Linked DNA regions of Homo sapiens: region 1 is linked to region 2. Evidence: promoter capture Hi-C in human tissues and cell types (Jung and others, 2019). All regions are on one chromosome and are shown on one strand. Each heading gives the region's core, a stretch centred on a gene start or on the middle of the fragment in contact. The rest is flanking DNA. Distances are from core to core; before and after follow the strand shown. Region 1 overlaps ZNF660-ZNF197 (ZNF660-ZNF197 readthrough). Region 2 holds the start of ZKSCAN7 (zinc finger with KRAB and SCAN domains 7).

The links. Contacts are between HindIII fragments. The study calls those that stand out against the background at their distance.
Region 1: a fragment that was not itself captured here is called in contact with the fragment with the promoter of ZKSCAN7 in region 2 in 2 of the 25 tissues and cell types used here (mesendoderm cells and thymus).

Annotation. Positions count from the first base shown.
Region 1 is chr3:44,607,001-44,609,700 of GRCh38, forward strand. All of the region lies in intron 2 of ZNF660-ZNF197 (ZNF660-ZNF197 readthrough), which reads left to right. The region is part of intron 2 of ZKSCAN7-AS1 (ZKSCAN7 ZNF cluster antisense RNA 1); the gene reads right to left. Among named protein-coding and RNA genes, the nearest start is that of ZNF197-AS1, 16 kb to the right of the region's middle. The HindIII fragment of the contact is 7,164 bases long and covers 1-2,700 here.
Region 2 is chr3:44,553,933-44,556,632 of GRCh38, forward strand. ZKSCAN7 (zinc finger with KRAB and SCAN domains 7) reads left to right here and starts at 1,261. Exons shown (of 6, transcript NM_001288590.2): 1 at 1,261-1,549. RefSeq lists silencers at 1,015-1,064, 1,175-1,314. The HindIII fragment of the contact is 4,885 bases long and covers 1-2,700 here.

The DNA.
Region 1 (2,700 bases), core at 197-2,696, 53 kb after region 2:
TTAATGTTGAAAGACTGAGCTTTCCTCCTGAGATCAGGAACAAGATAAAGTGCTTTCACCACTTTGTCTACTCAACAGTGTACTGCAGGTTCTAGCCAGGGCAGTTAAAATAAGTAAATAAATAAATAAATGGCATACAGGTTGGAAAGAACAAAGTAAAATTGTCCTTCTTTGTAGACGACACAATTCGCTATGTATAAAATCCAATTAAATCTCTTTTAAAAGCTACTAGAACTAGTAAGTGAGTTGAGGAAGGTTGCAGGACACATAACTTTATAAAAATCAATTTGATTTTTATATACTAACAATGAACAATTTGAAATCAAAATTTAAATAATATCATTTATAATAGCATTAAAATATGAAATACAGTAATTAATATGGCAAAAATGCAAAATATCTGTATATTAAGTACTGTAAAACTTTGGTGAGAGAAATTAAAGAAGACCTAACCAAATGGAAATCTACTTTGTTCACGGATCAGAGTATGCAGTATGGTTAATATGTCAATTGTCCACAAACTGTAGACTCAAATCCATCTCAATCAAAATCCTAGTAGTTGTGTGTGTGTTTTGTAAAAATTAAAAAGTTGTCTCTAAATTCTATATGAAAATGCAAAGAGCTTAGAGTAGCCAAAACAAATCAGAAAAATATTTTAAAATTTGGAGGGCTAACCTGATCTTAAAACGTATGTAGAACTACAGCAGTCAAGACAGTGTAGTTTTGGCATAGTGATAGAAAAATAGATAAATAGAAGAGAATAAAAAATTCAGAAATAGATCCACACATATATGAGCAACTGATTTTCGACAAATGTTCAAAGGCAATCAGTGGATAAATGGTATCTTTCCAACAAATCATATTGGAATAATTGGATATCCCTATGTAAAAATATTAACTTTGATCAATATCTCCCAATATATTAAAAATTAATAATGAATACTATACCTCAGTAGGAAACCTAAAACAATGAAAATTCTAGAATAAATCTGGAGAAATTGTGTCATCTTGCATTAGACAAACATTTCTTACATATAATGCCAAAGGTATGATTCACAAAAGAACAATTTGATAAACGGATGTCATCAAAACTAAAAGATCTGTTTTTTGAAAAGTACTGTTAGGAAAATTACAAAACAAGCCACGATCTGGGAAAAATATGAATACAGCATATATCTGATAAAGGATTTGTATCCAAAAGTGTCAAAATCCAACAATAAGGAAGCAAATAACCTAGTAGAATAATGTGCAAAGATCTGAATGGACACATCACTGACAAAGACATTCAGATGGCAAATAGGCACTGGAAAAGATGTTCAACATCACTGGTTTTTAGGGTAATGCAAATTACAACCACAGGGAGATACCACTACACCCCAATTAGAATGATGAAAATTAATAAGATAGTTCACATCACATGTTGGCAAATATGTGGAGGAACTGGAACTTTCAAACACTGTAGGCAGAAATGTAAAGTAGTGTAACAACTGTGGAAAACACGTTGGCTGTTGTTTAAAAAGTTAAATGTGGATTTGACAATGAATTATTGGCTATGACACCAAAAGCACAGGCAATAAAAGTAAATCCAGGTGCGGTGGCTCACACCTGTAATCCCAGCACTTTGGGAGGCCTAGGAGGTTGGATCACTTGAGGTCAGGAGTTTGAGACCACCTGGCCAATGTGGCAAAACCTCATCTCTACTAAAAACACAAAAATTAGCTGGGCATGGTGGCGTGTGCCTGTACTCACAGCTACTCAGGAGGCTGAGGAAGGACAATCCCTTGAACCTGGGAGGCAGAGGTTGCAGTGAGCTGAGATTGTGCCATTGCCCTCCAACCTGGGCAACAGAGCAAGCCTCCGTCTTGAAAAAAAAAAAAAAGTAAAAATAGATAAACTATACTACATCAAAATTTAAAACTTCTGTGCACTAAAGGACATAATCAGACTGAAAAGACAACCTATGGAATGGGAGAAAAAATTTGCAATTAAACATTTGATGAGTAGTTGATATCCAGAATATATAAATAACTCCTACAATTCAATAACAAAAAACTTAAAAAATGAGGAAAAGACTTAAATAGACATTTCTCCAATGATACGCAAATGGCCAACAAGCATATAAAAAAATGCTCAATATCATTAATCATTAGAGAAGTAAAAATCGAAACCACAATGAGAGGTCATCTCACACCATTATGATAGCAATTATCAAAACCAAAACAACAACAACAACAGAAAAGAAAATAATAAGCATTGATGAGAATGTGCAGAATTGGTACCTTTGTGCACTGTTGGTGCGGATGTAAAATGGCACAGCTGCTACATAAAACAGAATAGCAATTTCTCAAAAAATTAAAAACAGGTTGGGTATGGAGGCTCATGCCTGTAATCTCAGCACTTTGGGAGGCCGAGGCAGTTGGATTGCTTGAGCCCAGGAGTTCAAGACCAGCCTGGGCAACATGGCAAGACCCTGTCTCTATAAAAAATTAAAAAATTAACTGGGCATGGTAGTGCATACCTGTAGTCCCAGCTAGTCAGGAGGCTGAGGCAGATGTATTGATTGAGCCTGGGAGGTCGAGGCTGCAGTGAGCCGGGATCACACCACTACACTTCAGCCTGGGTGACAGGGTGGGACCCTGTCTCAATAAAAAATTAATTAATTAATTAATTAAAAATTAAAATAGAATTACCATACAATCC
Region 2 (2,700 bases), core at 11-2,510:
TGAAAATCAGGTCTGAGAGCATTTAGCCTGGCCTTGGGAGATTTCCTCCTCAAGAATCCTAAGCTTCTGGGGCCTTGATTTGCCTTCCACCTCAAGAATCCTAAGCTTCTGAGGCCTTGATTTGCCAGTAGGCAATGTCTAGCATCAATGTCAGGCAGAGGCTGGGGTTCCTGGTTTTAAATAGCCAAAACCTCCTTGTGAGATTTCCAAATGGAGAGGGGGACCTTGATGACAGGAAACCACCATTAGGATCAATGGACAAAGATTGCTCCAAGAGATTACTTTTAAGCTTGTGGAAACTCTGGAGCAGGACTTCTGGTGTCTTTGTTTCTATCTTGGCTCACACAGATATATGAGGAACATATGTCAGGGCCAGGGTTAGGCCCAGGGCACCTTTGAAATATTGCCATCCCTAGACAGTCCAGGAGACTGTTTACTTTGGGCCCTGTAAAGGACCTATCTCCTGTGCTATAATAAAGATACACAGTTAACTTCATCACACCCTTTGCCCTTCACCCGTGGTCATTAACACACAGGGCCTGCTCAACCATGTTTGTAACAAGGACCAGTTCATATCCTCCTTCTGTATGCAAACCATTCTTCAAAGTGAAAGTCACCTGGGTACCACCTGCCACCCAGAGGCTAGACAACTGCCTACTAGGTTACAAACTGTCCCCACACCTTCTCAGTTTATCTGCTTCTTGGTCTCCCTAGGAACCTCTACATGGACACCAGAATGCTGGTGCTGTCTTACGAAATATTAACCACATTTATGGGCCAAAATATCACAATTTCTAGACATGCTTCTTCATTTTTAAGATGGGAGATGCTTGCTGCTCCCTTCACTGAGACTTCAGATTGGGCATCACACATGGTATAACTGACTGCTCAGGATATGCCAGGCCTTTTGCTATGTAGTGTCTGTTAACCTCATGCGGTGCTCCCAGCCCTGTGAGGTACGCATTATGCTCTGCATTTTTTTCAGATGAGAAAACAGGCTTGGAGGTTGGGTATCTTTCCCAAGGACACCTGGAGGAGAAGGTGTAGAGCTGGGACGCGTCTGGATCCCCCGACTATGGCCTGAGAGCGGGATGTGAGTGGCCTGGGCCCTCGCGAGACCCCGACCCCGCCCGCGGCAGGTGGCCGGGCACAGCCGAGAAGTAAGCCCTGCCAGCTCTCCCGGGTGCGGGGACGCGCGCGCCCACCTTCGCAAACGAGACTTCCGGGATCCCGGAGGGGGCGGAAGTCGAGGCCTCTCTCGCTTCCGGCTCGGCCATTGTTTTTGGTCTAACGGGCAGTAGAGTGTCCGGCTTCGGTGCCGAGTGCCACCGCGAGTGGGCCGAGACGCGGAGGGAGGCGCGGCCGGAGCTCGGGTCGCCGACGCTGGCCAGGACCGCGCTTCTTCCCGGCGGCAGGCGGCGCGGTCCCCGTGACTCTCAGAAGCCGCCCGATGTAGAGCCGCTTCTTTGTCTCATACCCCTGACCATTCGTGCGTGGCACGGAGCCGGGTATCTGCGGGTACAGCGATGAACAGGGCAGACGTGGCCAGGTGAGCGGCGCTGCTGAAGCCTGGTTTAACACGAAAGGTAGATCGCTGTTTTCCCAGCTCTTGCAGTAGGAAACTGTATGAACTGTCATATTTGGGTCAGACCCAGGCTCAGAATCGCAAACGTGGAGCGTGACTTGGAAATGCAAAAATCCAATTGAGATTTTAAAGTGCTGAGCATTCGGAACACTATGGGAAGCAGGAGAATGGCCTGAACTTTCTACATATATGGGATCTTAGAGCAGAGTTTACAGATTATTTTAAAGTCCTTCTTTGTCTTTTTAAAGAGATTGAGACACAGGGATCTGGGCTCTTGGTGAACTGGAAGCACAGCACAGATGCCCTAGTTACCAGTAAGGTGCTGATTTTAAAACGTTCAAAGTTTTCCTCCACTTCAGTGTCAGCTAAATGTATCATATTCATTCATTTCCCAATTATGTGTGCCATGTGCACACGTGTACAAAGATGACTGGAAGTCAGCTCTGCCCTTTGTATCCTCCCAGAAAGCAGGGGAGACAGTCGTGTAAACCACAAACGATTACAGTGTGAGATGTGCTCTACTAGAGGTTTGAATGAAAAAGGTAGTTTGGGATCACTGAGACAATAACCACCTCTCTAAGCCTAGCGTGATCAGGAAGGCTTTCTAGGGGAGGTGCATTGAGTAAAAAAAGGTCTAGTATTTTCTGATTCCATTTGGTTCCTTTCCTTTGGTGGCCGTGCAGCAGTTTGGAGGGTGAGAGTGGTGAGTTGTGCATAAACCAGTTAAAGGGTTATAGTGAGAGGTACACAAAGGGAAGCTACCAGCACTCTTCCTGATGGGGCAATCAGGAAAACCAAGAAAAAGTTGCCTTTGTTCATGGTCTTGACAGACAAGTTTGCCAAAAGTTGAAGAAGAAAAATTCAAAGAAAGAGTATGTGTGGCTTCTAAGTGTGTCTCTAGAGCTTTAGCTCCAAACTTTCTTTATTTTGCATTTCTATCAGTAGAAGAGGTTTGATCACTTACTCCCTACATTGGTTTATTTGTAATTTAAACATGAATACTACTATACAAATTGTAATGCACATTATAAAACATACATTAAATAGGAGTTAAATAACTTAGTATTTTCTCTTGCACCCTTTGGGATAGCCTGCATTTCCCACATTGGAGACCA